2 separate regions of the Homo sapiens genome follow, and region 2 is linked to region 1. The links are contacts of gene promoters, found by promoter capture Hi-C in blood cells and fetal thymus (Javierre and others, 2016). All regions are on one chromosome and are shown on one strand. Each heading gives the region's core, a stretch centred on a gene start or on the middle of the fragment in contact. The rest is flanking DNA. Distances are from core to core; before and after follow the strand shown. Region 1 holds the start of MIOX (myo-inositol oxygenase). Region 2 overlaps PPP6R2 (protein phosphatase 6 regulatory subunit 2).

Evidence for each region. Contacts are between HindIII fragments. The CHiCAGO score rates a contact against its expected background, and 5 or more counts as called.
Region 2: a contact is called between a fragment that was not itself captured here and the fragment with the promoter of MIOX in region 1, in 12 of 17 cell types (total CD8 T cells, M1 macrophages, M0 macrophages and 9 more). The highest score is 8.3, in total CD8 T cells.

Annotation. Positions count from the first base shown.
Region 1 is chr22:50,485,609-50,488,426 of GRCh38, forward strand. It overlaps MIOX (myo-inositol oxygenase), which reads left to right and starts at 1,251. Exons shown (of 10, transcript NM_017584.6): 1 at 1,251-1,304; 2 at 1,777-1,857; 3 at 2,054-2,134; 4 at 2,278-2,440; 5 at 2,667-2,734. The coding sequence starts at 1,290. ADM2 (adrenomedullin 2) reads left to right here. Exons shown (of 3, transcript NM_001253845.2): 3 at 1-829. The HindIII fragment of the contact is 4,673 bases long and covers 810-2,818 here.
Region 2 is chr22:50,360,286-50,363,067 of GRCh38, forward strand. All of the region lies in intron 1 of PPP6R2 (protein phosphatase 6 regulatory subunit 2), which reads left to right. Among named protein-coding and RNA genes, the nearest start is that of PPP6R2, 18 kb to the left of the region's middle. RefSeq lists an enhancer at 1,169-1,218. The HindIII fragment of the contact is 3,779 bases long and covers 1-2,782 here.

The DNA.
Region 1 (2,818 bases), core at 1-2,500:
GTAGAAGGTAGAATAAGTGGGTGGTGGAGTGGCAGGGAGTGCTGAGTGCCACAGGAAGTCAGACAAGGAAGGAGAGTGTGGGGCAGGTGCCGTTTAAATGGGGGGCGCTGGGGTCTCCTCACAGTTGCTTCTCAGCTCAGCTGTGCCAGGATCTTGTTGAGTCAGGTCAGCTGCCCACAGCCCTCTTGCCTGACCCCTGAAGCCCAGAACTCTGATCTTCACAGCCCTAGGTATGGCCCCAGCACCCCACTGCCCTCTCTCCTGCCCCAGCCGACTGCTGTTCCCAGACTTCCCTGGCCACGCTCCAAGACGCCAGCTCTGCCGCGGGCACTTTGTTCTCACGGTGTCCTCCATGCCTGCAGGGCCCATGCATGGGAAGTTGCGTTGGCGGCCTGGGTGTTGGCGGTTCCGTGCCTGCTCCAACTCTCCGTGAGGCCCCTCTCCCAGAGCCTGACACACTCTGTGGCCGAACTCTAGGCAGGTGCCCCTGAGTCCTTTCCTCGACGAGGCCTGACCCCATCCCCATCCTCGCTGGGCCCGCCGACCCCGGTGTTAGCAAGAATCCTCTAAATCAGTTTATGGAGAATTACCCACCCTCGATATCTGATCCCATTCCTCATCTCCCACCCTTGATCTCATCACCCTGCCGGCCTCCTGCAAGATCCTCATTGAGCCACTCCAGTGAGAATCCCCCTACCCTCGAAGGCCGCCCTAACAACTTCCCATCCGCTGACCCCTCCAACGCCATCAATCTCCAGCTGTGGTTGTTGAACTCGGAGGTGAGCTCCTCTCACCACTCTCTTGAATAAAGCTTTTCTCACCATTTTAACAAGTCCTCAGAATCATCTTTTCTTAACAAGCTCCTGCCCCACCCAGAATCACGGGGGGCCTGGGGACAAGTTTTCACCTCCTGAGATCCAGTGGGGCAGCCGGGGAAGGGGTGGTGCAGAGGGGGCGTGTGCTTGAGGGTGGGGTCTTGGGTCTGCCCCTACTTGTGGGACCCCACAGAGGGGTCTAAGGCCAGGGCCCAAGTGGGAGGCTGGGCCCACAGATAACCCTAGGCAGGTCAGCGGCTCGGGACAGGAGTGTGAGGCTGAGTCAGGGCCAGAGGATGTGGGACTGCTGGGGGCTGCTGCTGTGCTGACACATTAACTCCCTGAGGCCGGGAGGAGGGTGGATGGTCATTTATTACTGCGGACACTTATGTAACCTGGGGTGTATATAGGAGCCTGGCTGAGGACACACTCGCCAGCCTGTGCTTTGCCACCTGAGCGCCGCTCCCTCTCAGGATGAAGGTGACGGTGGTGAGTACCCAGACCCCATGCAGAGAGGCTCTGCTGACTGCTCTCCTGGTGGCCAGCCACTCCCGCCCTCTTCTAGCTGGCACTGGCCAGCCCTCCTCCTCCGTCCAGCTGGGCAAGAGCCAGCGGCTGCCGACCCCCAGGCTCCCTGTGGACTCAGTCTCCTCCCAAAGCCACTTCCACCCCTCAAGGGTGGCCATGGGTGCCGCTCAGGCGTGGTGTCCCCTGTACCCCGGAAGCAGACGTCTGCTGACTTTCGCTTTGCAGATGAGGACCTGGGAGTGAGAGCTCCTGGGACTCGCTGAGGCCAGGGCAGGGGCTGGGATGATGGCGTGGGAGAGGCTGTGTCCTCGCGTGTCACCCACCAGCCCTCGAGCAGAGGCAGGCTTGGAGTCTGCAGCCACCCTGGGAATGTCTGTGCTTCCTCGTGGAGCTGACATGATGGTGAAATAGGTTCAATCCTCCACCTACCCAGGGCCCAGACCCTTCCCTGGTCTACCGACCTGATGTGGACCCAGAGGTGGCCAAAGACAAGGCCAGCTTCCGGAACTACACGGTGAGTACCTTGCCGTCCTGCCCCCCTTCTCCCCCATCCACACCCTGGGGAGCAGCACTTGCCCTTCACACAGTTCCAGGGGGTGCCCTGTGGGAACTCCCACCCCCATCACACCCTGTGGGGCTGCCTGGGAGAGGGGAGGCATGGGGCCTCGTGTGCAGGGTGGGGGTGGCGCCACTGACCCTCCGGCCTGCAGTCAGGTCCCCTCCTGGACCGTGTCTTCACCACCTACAAGCTCATGCACACGCACCAGACAGTGGACTTCGTCAGGAGCAAGGTAGGCGTTTCCTGCCGCCCCGTGCAAACGCGGAGGGACCCTTGCCCTCAGCCCCATGAGCCCACCAGGCGCCGAGGGGATGGAGAGGCCTGTGTGGTGGGCCTGCTGACCCTGGGCCACACTGCCTTCTCCTTCCCCGCCAGCATGCCCAGTTTGGGGGCTTCTCCTACAAGAAAATGACAGTCATGGAGGCCGTGGACCTGCTGGATGGGCTGGTGGATGAGTCGGACCCGGACGTAGATTTCCCCAACTCCTTCCATGCCTTCCAGACAGCGGAGGGCATCCGGAAGGCCCACCCAGACAAGGGTGAGCCCTGGCTGTGCTGCAGGGGGGCAGGTGCTGCCTCCAAGGGGCAGAATGCAGCAGCCTGTAGGGTGGGAGGGGACAGTAGTGGGCCCAGGCCTCCTCCAGCAGCCCTGCCTGGGTTGGGGAGCAGGCCCTGGACCCTTCCTGGCTCTCAGCCCCGCAAACCTGCTCATCCTCTGCCTTGGCCCCTGCAGTCCCCAACCTGCCCTGTCCATCCCCCTCCCAGACTGGTTCCACCTCGTCGGGCTCCTGCACGACCTGGGGAAGGTCCTGGCCCTGTTCGGGGAGCCCCAGGTAAGAGTTGGAAGTGGAGGGTGAGGAGGCTGCATGTTGAGGCAAGGTGGGGGTGGAGTGGCCTTGGTGCTTGGCCTGGGATAC
Region 2 (2,782 bases), core at 11-2,510, 130 kb before region 1:
CATGATCTGCCTGCCTTGGCCTCCCAAAGTGCTGGGATTATAGGCGTGAGCCACCATGCTCAGCCTTTTTTTTTTTTTTTTTTAAGAGAGACAGGGTCTCCTCTGCTGCCCACTTGGAAGTGCAAGTGGTATGAACACATGATCATGACTCACTGCAGTCTTGAACTCTCAGGCATAAGAGACCCTCCTGCCTCAGTTTCCTGAGTTGCTAGGACTGCAAGTACATGCCACCACACCTGGCTAATTTAAAAAAAGGTTTTTAGAGATGGGGTCTCTCTGTGTTGCTCAGGCTGGTCTTGAACTCCTGGCTTCAAGCAATCCTCCTGCCTGGACCTCCCAAAGCATGGGGATTATAGGTGTGAGGCACCATTCCTGGCCCAGGAGATCTGTATTTTTATCCCTGTTTACCGAGGAGCCACAGAGAAGCTGGCAGTTAGCTACACTGTCAGAGCTCACAGATAGGACACCTATTGGGTGTGAGCCAGGGAGCTGACCTGTGCTTCTGCCCACTGTTGCTGCTCACACCAGTCTCTCTCAGGTTTGGCACTGTGTAGAGTCTGTCAGTATCTGTTTTCTCTGCTAGACGTCAGGTTCCTTGGGGCATGACTAGGTTTGTCCCATTATTAGCTACATTTGTTGCTGAATGAACTGACTGATGCCCAGTGTCCTCTCTCTGGGCTACTGTGGACAGTCAGACCTTTAGGAGCTCTTCAAGAATTTGACTGTCACTCATCATCCTGTTGACTGCTCCACTTTGAAGACTTGACTTCTCTCTCCTCATGATCCCACCATCTCTAAGCCTGTGGAACTCTGCTCTGACCCTTTCTCAGCTCTTTGCTGTGATGCCCTTCCTGGACTAGTTCGGTCCTGGGTAGTGCCTTCCTGTCATCACCCTCAATCTTGGTCATTCCTTTTGGATTTCCTTTGATAACTCCTTTTTTTCTTCATTGACTCAGTCAGAATCTGGTTATCATATGGAGACTGAGAACATGGGCTTTGCTCTCAGCCAAACCTGGGTTCAAGTTCTAGAACGGATACTTACTAGCCCATGACGTTGCGCTAGTCATGTAATTACTGAGACCTCTGCTTTTTACTTGTGAACTGGGGGTTGGTAGGAAACTACCTGCTGCATTAGGCTTTGAGCTTTGAGTGTACGGATGAAGCCAGCTACTGCCACTCTCCTGTGGCTGCTGGAACCCTAAAGGCAGTTTGTTGGCTCTTACTTCTTCTGTGCGTCTTGTTTGGACTTGAGCTTTGTTCACTGCCCCAGTTTCCTCCCTGCTGCTTTTTGGTGCTGTTTTCTGCTTGTTTGACAATGCTTTTTATCTAGCTTGCCTTCAGCTATTTTTCCTTCAACAGTCTCAGCCCAGAGTATGCCCTGCTTGTCTTCCTTTGACCCAGGACCCAGAGTATGCCCTGCTCGTCTGCCTTTGACTCTTTGTTCTGGTACTTGTTTTCCCAGGATTATATTATTGACAACAAATATAGCATAGGTGCGCTGTCTGTCTTGTGGTGCGCGTAGGTGCGGACTAGGGCCTTGCTGTGGTGGGCCTTTGGTTTCCTGCAGTTGATTGTTTTTCTCTCTAGGCCCCTTGGAGGCATCTGGTATTAGTCACTGTCCTAGGGCAGTGGTGGCAGTCATGACTGTTCTCTGTCTTGGAGTCAACACTTTTACCTGCAGTGCACATGCAGCAGGCACTTGCCCAAGGTTCCAGAGCTGCTCAGTGATGGAAACTGGACTTTATGCCTGGACCTTTGTGGTCAGGGACTGCCCTGATGTGGCCAGGCCTCCCTGGCTCAAGAGGTTCTCTGGCTGCCTGGAGGGTCTGCATTGGGCTCCAGGAAGGGGAGGAGTCGGGGCTAGGGCCCTTAGCACTGGTGATGAGGAAGGTGCATCCTCATAATGCTGGCCATCTCTGTCCTTAACTGGGAGAGCTGCCATGGTTGCTAGTGTTGAGCAGATGGAGGTTTTCAGTTTTCACTTGAGCCTTCATCCTATGTAACAGCCAGGAGGATACTCTTCTGAGCCTGGCGTGGGCCTGACAGCCATCTCTCGGGGCTGTGTGTTAAAGTCACCTTTCTGAGACTTTGGTGGGAGACCAGCTGGGCCTCCGCTGCTGGGAGGAGAATTGCTACCTTGGGAGCTTGAAGACCTTGGAATGTGCAGCGACGTCAGCTCTTCTCAGCCCGTCGCTGAGTCCTTACTGTGTTCCCGTTGCAGAGCACGTGCTCTGCATGGAGGCCTCATGCCATCCTTAGTTGGTGGAAGGGCTCAAAGACAGGCAGGGTGCTAGGGACTGAATTGTGTCGTGTCCACCCCAGATTCCTATGTTGAAATCCTAAGTTCCATTTAGTGGTATTTGGAGGGAGGCCTTTAGGAGATAATTAGGTTCCGTGAGGTCACCAGGTGGGGCTCTCAAGATGGGACTGACACCCTCATACAAAGATACACCAGAGAGCTTGCTCTCACCCTCCCTGCTGTGAGGACACAGTGAGAAGGCAATGGTCTAAGGGCAGGGAAGACAGGCTTTCTCAGCAACCTAATTGGCCAGCACCTTGACCTTGGACTTCTAGGCCCCAGAACTGTGAGGAATAATTGTCTGCTGTTGAAGGTGTTGTATTCTGGCCGCCTAAGCATACGAAGACACCGGGTCAGTGGAGGGCAAGAAGGTGGCTGGCTCTCTGGCAGAGCAGTCATTGAAGACTGGCTCCTTAGCCACTGGTGGCCTGAGGATGTATTTAGCTTGTCCTGCATTTTATTGGCCCACATAGTGTTCAAAAG